Linked DNA regions of Homo sapiens: region 1 is linked to region 2. The links are contacts of gene promoters, found by promoter capture Hi-C in blood cells and fetal thymus (Javierre and others, 2016). All regions are on one chromosome and are shown on one strand. Each heading gives the region's core, a stretch centred on a gene start or on the middle of the fragment in contact. The rest is flanking DNA. Distances are from core to core; before and after follow the strand shown. Region 1 holds the start of PLAAT1 (phospholipase A and acyltransferase 1). Region 2 overlaps ATP13A4 (ATPase 13A4).

The links. Contacts are between HindIII fragments. The CHiCAGO score rates a contact against its expected background, and 5 or more counts as called.
Region 1: a contact is called between the fragment with the promoter of PLAAT1 here and a fragment that was not itself captured in region 2, in 1 of 17 cell types (endothelial precursors). The highest score is 5.1, in endothelial precursors.

The regions. Positions count from the first base shown.
Region 1 is chr3:193,237,605-193,243,184 of GRCh38, forward strand. It overlaps PLAAT1 (phospholipase A and acyltransferase 1), which reads left to right and starts at 3,618. Exons shown (of 4, transcript NM_020386.5): 1 at 3,618-3,929. MGC2889 (a long non-coding RNA gene) reads left to right here and starts at 4,175. Exons shown (of 1, transcript NR_026877.1): 1 at 4,175-5,580. LOC105374280 (a long non-coding RNA gene) reads right to left here and starts at 3,419. Exons shown (of 3, transcript XR_924833.3): 1 at 3,291-3,419; 2 at 2,146-2,241; 3 at 1-930. RefSeq lists a silencer at 3,520-3,769. The HindIII fragment of the contact is 3,333 bases long and covers 1,072-4,404 here.
Region 2 is chr3:193,458,202-193,463,786 of GRCh38, forward strand. ATP13A4 (ATPase 13A4) reads right to left here. Exons shown (of 30, transcript NM_032279.4): 13 at 4,561-4,622; 14 at 880-1,030. Among named protein-coding and RNA genes, the nearest start is that of ATP13A5, 82 kb to the left of the region's middle. The HindIII fragment of the contact is 2,065 bases long and covers 2,259-4,323 here.

The DNA.
Region 1 (5,580 bases), core at 2,368-4,867, 220 kb before region 2:
AATTTAAAATGCAAAGAGAGAAATAGGAAATGCAGAAGTAGGAATATTATGTTGATATTTAGCCACTTCCTAAATATGGTGAAATTTAAGAATAATTTTCAAGTATATTTTTGTGTCATACCCATAGCTTAAATTTAATCTTTCTTTTTTTTTTTTTTTTTTTTTTTTTTGAGACGGAGTCCCGCTGTTTAGCCCAGGCCGGATTGCAGTGGCGCAATCTCGGCTCACTGCAAGCTCCGCCTCCCAGGTTCACGCCATTCTCCTGCCTCAGCCTCCCGAGTAGCTGGGACTACAGGCGCCCGCCACCGCGCCCGGCTAATTTTTTGTATTTTTAGTAGAGACGGGGTTTCACCGTGTTAGCCAAGATGGTCTCGATCTCCTGACCTTGTGATCCGCCCGCCTCGGCCTCCCAAAGTGCTGGGATTACAGGCGTGAGCCACCGCGCCCAGCCAATTTAATCTTTCTTATACATACTAAGCTTTTTGGATATTTAAAAGACCTTTTCACAAATCTGTGAAGATGGCAGGCTATGTTACTATTTTTCCTGTTTCGTATATATATAAGCTGAGGCTCAGAGGTTTAACAAACATGCTTCTTATCATACAGCTAGCAAATGGTAGAACCAGGCTTAGAACCCAAGACTCATGACTCATTGCCTTTCCATTGTCTTTTTTTTTCTGAGAAGAATGCAGGCAACTCTTTATATAGAAGACATAGCTATGTTCTTCCTTCCTTGCCACATGCTGATAGATTCCCATGTCTCTGGTGTAGCCTCCATTACATTATTCTTTTCTTCATTCGTCCCTTGACTGCTCCACAGACTTGACTTAGCCTAATTTACCAAGCTTAGTCATTTCAGATGAATATAATCATCAGGAAGCAGCAGTTGCAGAGACATTACCTAGCTTGGATGTGCAGTACGTGAAAAACCTGTAAGCAAACAGATTTTCAGTTGCAATGATATTGACCAGAAATACACAAAGCAGATTGAATTAGAGGGTTAAGTAATTTGTACAGGAAAAAAATCCAGTCTGAGCAGGCAGGTGGCCTGGACATTCAAGTCAAGAAAAAAGCTTTTACTTTTACAGCATAGATTTTAGGGGCTGAGGTTGGAACTATTGGAATGATTGTCTCAACTCTTACTAGCTCACATAAAACGTAGCCAACCATCTCTGCATTATCTTGGCAAATATTTCAGTTATTTGTGCAGCTCTTTTATTTTTGTGGTTTTGAAAACCTATTAAAAAAAAGGTTTTTCTTTTGCTGTCTGATAAAAGAGGGAGTCTGGGTAGGGGAAGAGCTCTTGCCTAAGAGGCCTGACTTCAGTTCTACCCCAGGAGAACTGGAATACAGAGCTCCACATCTCAGGCCTCACACCAACTGCCAGGACTGAGCAGTCACAAGTTTGCTGAGAGGATCAAATGAGACAACAGAATCAAAGCGCTTTGCTAATTGTAAAATATGCACAAAACATATAGGGTTGTTTGAGGCCTCTGTCTAATATCACACAATGCCAATTGGTTTGAGTTTCCATGTGTTAAAAAGCCAATTGTAATTTTTGTTACCTTATAGGGCTTTTTCTGGAATGTGAACTTTATTCACTCAACAACAAACAGGACTAAGTCATCTCCATTATGCTTTTTTCAATATGTTTCAACTCTTACTATAAAATTAGGCAGCAACAGAGAATGCCAGCCACACAGGGCTTCACTTATAATGGCCAAAATAATAGGAACTGTTTATTTAAGTGTAATTTAACATCTGCTCCAATCATAGCCCCAGATTACAACTCTAGATTAAGACAAACTTTGCCTATTACTGCCCAAGGCTAAGTCCTCATTCTTTCTTAATGGAAATTTTAATTTTCCACTGCTCATCCGTAGAGTACCACCGATTGATCAACTCTCTCTCCAATCCATAGAAATGAAGAGAGAACTCAGGGCTCTCCTGAACTACAACGCTTTCTACATTTCTCCTATAAATTCCACGCAGGCATTGAATTGAATTTGTTCTTAACCAAATGCGTTTTATCTATACCTGGCAGGAATCTAGAAGTGAAATTACAAGATTTATTTCATTTTAATTCTATTATGAAGCATTTAATCACAAATACCCTGAAAATGAAAAGATAATTTATCATTTTACCTTGACTGAGCAACTCTCCTCACTTCACATTCATGAATCCATAACGCAGAGAGGAGACTGGATGATTAAGTGTTTGATTAGAGAAAACAGATTAACCTAGCAAACATAATAAATTTGGCTCATAAGCAGGATGGCTTTATAAATGCTCACAATACCTCTCCTGTATAAAATCATGAACCACTTCCTACAGTGATGACTCCATCGAAATAGTTGAGAAACATAAAGCAAATGCATGTTTATGGCTTTCTCTTTGAGACATTAAAAGGGTATTGAAAGGCATATCTGATTCAGCTTATAACTCTGGATATATATTAAGGAACATGTAAGAAAATATTAATGCATAAAAAAAGCTACAACTTCTCAAGTGTTCTAGTTTCCACTTTGTCAATAATTACGTTTTCAATGTCCTTCTGTGGACTGTTTCCAAAGGTGCCAATCCAGACCCAAAGTTTCAGATCACTCAGATTCACCCTTAACCTTCATAACACAACCCAATAGCTTTACGAAAAAAGTTGCATATTTAGGTAGTTGTTATCCCATTATGACAAAATACATAAAATTAGCGAGATATTTTTTAGCCTTCAAATAAGTGGGAAAAAATCCTTTTAGCTGAGATTCCATTTACATCAGAATAAAAATCTAAGTTATGACTAGGTTGAAGCAACGTCCTGTGCAGCGCTCCATAAAGTTCACTTAGTCTTCAAGGGTTCCTTACTTAGCTAGGTTAGTATTCCTGGCCTCTTTTTTTAGCAGTGAGAAAAAGGATACTCTCCCTGCCCCAGCTTTATTTTTAAACTCACAGCCATATCCTGGAGGTCTCTGCTGGCTATTTGGCGCGTGGGGGCGGAGGGGGGCCGGGGGAGGGGGGCGGGGCGGGGTCTGGAGGTCTGTGCTGGCTATCTGGCGTGTGTGTGTGTGTGTGTGTGTGTGTGTGTGGTTGGAGGTCTCTGCTGGCTATCTGGCGTGTGTGTGTGTGTGGTGTGGTGTGTGTAAGCAGTGAGGTTGTTTTAGGGCCAGTCCTTCCTCCGCCACTTTGCTGACTCAAAGACCCAGAGGCTTTCTTGGGGTGCAGGTACCATGATTCCTTGGGCCCTAAGGGAATTTTTGTTAGGCTAGAAGAGTGGGTGTACTCATGATGGGTGTACCCGAACATTCCTGGGCTCAACAAAACCGATTATCTTTATAACCGCGGCGCCTAGCACAGCGCCTGGTGCCCTAAACGTTGGCTGCGGGAACGTCCGAGACGCGGGTGCGGAGCCGGGGGCGGAATAACTGGTTGCGCGGCGCTTTGACCGTAGGCGCTGGAGCGCGTGCGTTGCGTGCGCGCGCGGAGGCGGCTGCGTCGGGGCGCGAGAAGGTGCAGTTCCCCGGCGGGCGGGCGGGCGGGCGGGCGAAGCTGGGCTCGGGGCCAAGCGAGGTCTAGCCGGAGCGACTGTGCCCCGCCTCCTGGGCGGAGCGGGCGGCTCCCCATGGTCAGAGCCTCGTGCCGGCTCGGCAGCGCCCGGACGCCGAGCCCAGCGCGTCGGCCCCCCGGCGTGCGGGCGTCTCAGAGCCGCGGAGGGGCCGCCGGGACCGTTTCAGCGTGGCGGCGCTGGTGCTGGCGTTGGCCCTGGAGGACGGCCCCGAGTGATGGCTGGCGCCTGCCTCCCGGGTGTCTCCCGGGTACAGATGGAGTCGTCCCGCGGCCGCCGGCGGCAAGGTCGGCAGCTGCGAGGCCAAGAGAGACCCCAGGACACACACAGCTGCCTCCCGGTGCGAGAAGAAGACCCCGGCTTGAGAGTGAGGTGTGCTGGGCGGAGTGGGGGAGGACCTCGAGGCGCCCCGGCAACCAACCGTGTTCTAACCAACTGGCAAGTGGGAAAAGTTGACATGACTAGAGAACAACGGAGCTTATCCACCCTCCTCTTTTTCACAGACTGGGGAACTCAGTCCACAGGGCAAGAGACTTTCTTCCCTAGGTTACACAGCTATTAAGTGGCAGAGCTGGGACTAGAAACCCAACCTGTTTAAGGCTTTTTAAGCCTACTGTCCTCACTGAAGTGAATATGAATAATAATACAAGTAATTATTATCGTATTGGATTTTGGAAAGTTGGATGGTGATATTCCTTTGGCATGCGAGACTATTAATATGACTCGTGCTGGAAAAAGTCACTCATGTTTTCTCTGGGCTTGGATTCCTCATTCCTTCATTCAATGAACATTTGCTCCGCAGTTACTTGTGCGAGGCACTCTCACCGGAGACTGAAGGTATAGAGCAAGCTTGTCCAACCCGTGGCTCACTAACCGCGTGCGGCCCAGGACAGCTTTGAATGCCGCCCAACACAAATTTGTAAATGTTCTTAAAACATTATGAGAGGTTTTTTTTTTGCGCTTTTTTTTTTTTTCTCATCAGCTATCATTAGAGTTAGTGTATTTTATGTGTGGCCCAAGACAGTTCTCCCAGTGTGGCTCAGGGAAGCCAAAAGATCGGACGCATGGTATAGAGAAAAACAAGAAGCATCCCTCCATAGCGTATGCCCCACAAGAGACAATTTCCCAGAGACCAGTAGCTGAGGCAGGTGTAGGAAGTGAATGGGCCATTAGATGGATGCCTGTGGAAGCTAAAGAAGGCGGATCGGAGGAAGACAATCCGACCTGGGGAGTGGAGGAGAGAGGGGGAGAAGGTGGCATCGACTTGGATTTTTTAAGATTGAGTCATTTGGGGCACTTGGAAATGGGCATTCTGGGTAGAAGGTTCAGTATTAACAAAAACAAAACAATACTCTTGAGTGGGAAGAATAATGGATAGTTTGATTTGCCTAGAATGTAGAGATTAATAAGGATGCCAGGATTCTAGGGCGGGGGACCAAGATGGGGAGTCAGTGGTGGGAAGCCCTGGAAGATTCCAAGCAAGGCATGACAGTGCTGTGGCAGCGGATAGTTAATTTGGCCAAGGAGTGGAACCCTCCTTTGTAGCGTGAGAGTGTTGGACCAAGGATCTTTGCAGCACTGAGAGTCTATGAATTAGCCAATCTGGGAATACAGGGCTTCATGGAAACATCACAGTGTAGGAGGATTATGGATGGAAAGTGCAGCTGGAATGGGAAAAGGTCGAAACCTAATTAGAAGCCTTGGGCCAGGGGTAGCCTGTGATCACCTGCGATTGTGTTTCAGACTTCCAGTAACATTCTTGGGAGTAGTTGTTAAAAAAGTGCTCTTCGTGTTTCTGTAACTTGGGTGGCCTCTTAGGCATGAGCAGACGTTCAGCCTGTCCCTATCGGCAGGGAACATTTATTTATTTTGATGCATCCCCAGGGACCAACAGAGAGCTATAAAGACAGCAGCCTGTTTTGCCAGTTGGCCAGTTGAAATGGGAAATTTCTTATACAAAGATTACAGACTTAACCTTCATGCCACTCTTTATTATAAACTGTTCATACAGTTCTTTGCAGAT
Region 2 (5,585 bases), core at 2,041-4,540:
GCGAGAGCTATATGCAGCTCAGGAGAAAGGAAGGGATTATAGCTAAGTAGTCAGGGATGCAGGTCCCTTAGTCCTCATCTTTAGATCCCACCTTTTATTTCAACTGGAGTAACTCCAGCTATTTAGTCTTTAGAGTGTTTCTGGAGAACGTTTCCTTTTACGAGAAGATTCCAGATTGTTTGTCTTGTTTTGTGTTATGTGAACACCACTGGTCTAATTCAACTTCATTTTATGGTCATGAGAGCCAAAGCCCCAACATGAGAGATAGCTTAATGGGATTCAGCAGTCAGTTAGAGCAGAGACAAAACTAGAATCGGAAAAGCCAGATTCCTGAACGACACTGTTGGCTCTTAAATCTAGTTTAGAGTCTCAACAAAAGCTCTTTAGTGGTTTTCCTTTTTGTTCTTTCTAGTCTTGGAAATAAAATCAATATGAAATTAATAGAAATAAGACTTATAGTCCCCGTGAATCTATGAGTTATCCTGAGCACTGGAGAAAGCAATGTTTTCTGATCCCCATATTCTGGAAAATCTTCGAAACCAGACAATGCTCGGAGAACAGTACAGAGAGACAAGAAATAACTGCATAATAAGTACAATTATATTAATATGATCGAACCTTTAATATTTGCCAGGCATAGTGCCAAGGATTTTCTTACTGCATCATCTCATTTAATCCTCACAATCTCATTATGTAGATGCTATTATTAGCTTCATTGCACAGATGAGGAAACCAGCCTTAGATTGGTTTGCCCTTCACTACCAAATGTACTCCACATTGGAAACCTCACCTTTTATAAGAATTAGATAGCTCTGATATTGCCTATGTTGCTCTGGCATTGAAGAAGCTTCTCAGATTCTCTGAAGAGCAGAGGCTTACCCAGGTGGTGGCTTCAAACATTTTGAGGTCCAGAGGGTCTCCCTGGATGGTCCCATCAAGAAGGATCAGAGAGTGGCAGCTGGCCATCGCTGCACACAGTGGGCCCCATGGCAAAGCCTGGCCTGAGGCAAAGCTGTGAACTTCCTGAAAGCTTAAGGAGAAAAGGAAATGGGTTTCCATTCCATCGCCTCATGCCAAAACAGAGCATCTTGGAGGTGAACAAACATCTTTATAAAAAAATAATTTAATATGCTTTGTTGCATTAATAGCCACTCTCCAATCCTCCCACATTAATAGTGCTTCATTCAGCCAAGTAAGTTCACTGAGTATGAGAAAGGTCTCTGAGTTTTTTCTTTTTCTTTTGGATACAGGGTCTCACTCTATCACTCTGTCACCCAGGCTGGAGGAGGACAGTGGCGTGATCTCGATTCATTGCAACCTCTGCCTCCCAGGTTCTAGCGATTCTCCTGCCTCAGCCTCCTGAATAGCTGGAATTACAGGCAGCCACCACCATGTCAGGCTAATTTTTTGTATTTTTAGCAAGGATGGGGTTTCACCATGTTGGCCAGGCTGGTCTTGAACTCCCAACCTCAGCTAACCCACCTGCGTCGGCCTCCCAAAATGGTGGGATTACAGGCGTGAGCCACTGTGCCCGGCTAAAAACATTTTTCAAATGAACACTGCATCCCCCTCTTCCACCCTGGCCTCTTGTGTCCATATCCCAACCATTATCCCCATCATCTCATTTTAGATAAGAACATAGTCTCATCTAAAAAGCTATTAAAATACAACTCAAATGTCATATGCAGGCTTCCTTCACTAATTCAGAGTGGAGGCCATTAAGTTCAGCTTTGGCGTCACAAGAAGAATGTTGTCTGCAGCTTGGTTAGTCACAGCCCCTTCTCAAATGTGCAGCACAGGCGTTGGTTCTCAAAGCAGCTTACCCTATTAGGAGGACGTTTGAACGGTGGAAGCTTCATCCTACATTGGGGCAGAATCTGCTCCTGGGAGCCAGTAAGGGTCCACTTGCTCCCCCTCCTCCACATGCCAACTTCTTTCAAACTTAGGGATCAACTCTGCCGTCCCCTTCACCCTCTCTCCCTCTGGTGTCGCACAGGAACCTCCGGCTGTTCCTCTAATAACAGCTTGATCAGGCCTCCCTCTCACCTTCCTTATTCTTCTTTTTTGGAAAAGTTCCTAAATTTGTCATTGTCTGATCCTGGAGACCACATTTCAAGACAGACAATTACTTCTGATAATATGGACCCTGAATTTATTTAAAGATAACCTTAAGTTGCTGTAGCCCTTTGTTTTGAAAGCAAACACATCTCAGTGTTAACTCACAATTCAGCCACATGGCTTCCTGGCTTTTGCATTCAAGCTTCCTTTTGTCACACTAAGAGTTCAAAAATGTCCTGGCTTCATATTGACCCTGTTAGTTATACTTATTACTATGTCTTAAAAGAGCAGCTCATCTTGGTGGTTTACCACATACCCAATGGTATTTTAGTAAATATCTAAAAGGAAGAGACCACCAGCAGGACAGTTAACACAGAAACTTAAACGCACACTGAAAAGCAAAATACAGATCAGAAAAAAAATCTTATTTTTACTATGAGACGTACACTGTCACTAGTCCGTAATTCTGAGTGTATAATTCTGCATTCGAGAGGATTGGGCCAGACTCTGTTTAGCACAGCAAATACATAAAGCTCTCTATCATTCCTGTCCACCCATTTTTATCTGAGTATTTCTGGTTATCAATCCCTGATAGCCTTTAATAGTTCTTAAAGTATCTGACACAACAATCAGGGCTTTTTGGAAAGGAAGAAATATCAGAGATGAGCTCACCTTTAACAAGAAGGTATTGAATAGTCTATAAGTCAGGTGCTCACTTCTTACCTAGAATTAATTCTGTTTTGTTTCATTTTATTAATTAAATTTGTCATTTTTTATTTTAAATTGTTTTAATCATTGGAATTCAACTTTGATTGGAAGGCAGGAAGGCAGCAAGGCAGGAAGGAAGGAAGGAAGGAAGGGAGGGAAATGAATCATTTACCTAAACATTATATTAATTGTTATTCCTTAAATGTAACAAGTCACTTTTAGAAACAAAGTTTCCAAAGTTTTATGAATAGTTTGGTGTCAATGGAATAAGAAGAACATTCAAAAGACAGAACATATTGAGTTCATTTTAGATGAGCGATTACTGTGCACCTACTATTTGTGCCTAGTACAGAGCTACAGCACTTAGGATGCAAATCTAAATAAGAACAAGACTGCTCTCAAGATGCTCACATATTTGAACAAATGTACACATATTTTGCAGAAGCTGAAACAGAAAAACACTAATGAACCATGAGACAAAGTATATATCCAAATCTATCTTCTAGGAAAAATGAAAGAACTTTAGAGTTTAACACTTTCAGAGGCCTCTTCTGTACACTAAAGTGGTTAGAAGCACGAGGATCACTTTTTTAATCCAGGAATTAGACTTGTTTCTAGATAGCATTTTAATATGACAATTATTAAACTATGTGTAATTAACATTTTATGGATAAATTACATGTCATAATGCAAAAGAACCACAAAGAACCTTTCATGTACAAAATGCTTTGTGATTTAAGTTATAAGTGTTAGAGGAAAAAACTTTCATTTTCAAACAAAACATAAACGTCAAGTGCATCAGAGATTTCATGTTCTGATTCCACGGGAGTTCGTAGTGAGTTGAAAAAGCGGGCAGAGACGCAAACTCAAACATGGCCACAAGAGGGCCACAGGAGAGGACTGTGCAAATCTTTACCACACCATGCTGAGAACTGTCAAAACCGTCTTTTCTTGCTAGGAAAAAGGAGTTTCAGCCAAGTGCAGTGGCTGATGCCTGTAATCCCAACACTTCAGGAGGCCGAGGTGGACGGATCACCTGAGGTCAGGAGTTTGAGACCAGCCTGGCCAACATGGTGAAACCCCGTCCCTACTAAAAATACAAAAATTAGCCAGGCATGGTGGCAGGCACCTGTAATCTCAGCTACTCGGGAGGCTGAGGCAGGAGAATCGCTTGAACCCAGGAGGCGGAGGTTGCAATGCACCAAGATCATGCCACTGCACTCCAGCCTGGGCGACAAGAGTGAAACTCCGTCTCAAAAAAAAAAAAAAAAGAAAAAAGAGAGTTTCCAGCAGCCAGAAAGTAGAGTTCTCAAAATTTGAATACCAAGAAACATGAGTACACTAGCTACGGTTCTACAAATGTTCCTCTTCCTGAAATTCAGGGTACAAAAGTAAGAGCAGTGTCCTTCCTCCTAGCACATCAAGAGGCTTCAGCTTGAACAAAGAATGTTACCTCCTTAAAGGACAGTGTCCTGGTAATGTCTAAATTACTTATACTGCGTCAACTTCATGCTGGAAGCAAATTATATTTTAGCAAGGATTTGAATGCAGTGTCAAAGCTTCATCTCCAGGATTTGTGAGTGGCATGGGACTGGGTTGGGATGGGGGGAAATGTGTGTGTTTTAGGGAGGCTTTGAAGAATTAAAGATGAGAAGTTAAAAGAAGATACTTTGGCAATCATTGTCCACCAAAGCCAAAGTCCAAATGTCTCCATTCTTAATTTCAAGAGAAAACACGGAATTTTGGAAAAAGAGACACTAGAATGCATTTAGTCCAAGAGTCCAAGGTACTCACCCATTCCTATCACAGGACACGACTCCCCAGAGGTCCAAGCCGTCCCTTGTTAAGGTGCCTGTCTAAACAGAAACAAATGCTCCATTTACTCTGAAGATCCAGGCAAGGAGCGGTGGCTCATGCCTGTAATCCCAGCACTACGGGAGGCGGAGGCAAGAGGATCACTTGAACTCAGGAGTTTAAGACCAGCCTGGGCAACATAATGAAACCACCTCCCTATTTTAAAAAAAAAAAAATCCAGTGGCCCCATAGCGAAGACTCCGTAGTGCAGATAAATAAGGTATTTTTGTAATGAGAAAATACTTCACAAACATATTAACAAGATCAGCACTTCAAGGAGGGGCACAATGGGTGGGTCTCTGGAGTGCCCGTTGGAAGCGTTGATGAGCTCATGCCAGTTGTCTAACAAGCTGGCACTTAATCTTTTCAAACTTTAGTGTCCTCCATAACAACAACAAAAAAAGTATCTTCCTCACAACTTCAGAGGATTGTTTTGAGGATCTAATGGTAGACTGAATGGATGTGAAAGTCCTCGATATAAAATGGGTGAGTCCTAGTTTCATAGCAGAAGTTTAAAATATGTCATTAAAATAAGGAATAGAGTGAAATTTTTACCTGCAGGGCACTGTGAACAGACTCGAAAGAAATGGTTTGCTATTTGGTAAAAAAAAAAAAAAAAAAAAAAAAGGTGGTGGTATTTCTCTCAGTGCAATATTATGGTTAAGAATTCAGGTTAGGTTTAAACACCAGTTGTGTGACCAGAGCAAATTAATCCCCCTAAATATAAGAGCTCTTATCTGTAACATGGTCATAATCTCAGAGAGCTGTGGTGAAGATTAAATGGGATAACATAAAGTGTTTCATTTAATATCTAGCATACAGTAAAAGCTAATAATAATCATAATTATTCATAATTATTGCTCATTTTTTATACAAATTGAGGTCACAATTATCTCTCCCACTCCTGTTTCTTTTTCCAGGTCCGAGGATATAATCTCATAAATAGAATGTCATTTCTTACATTG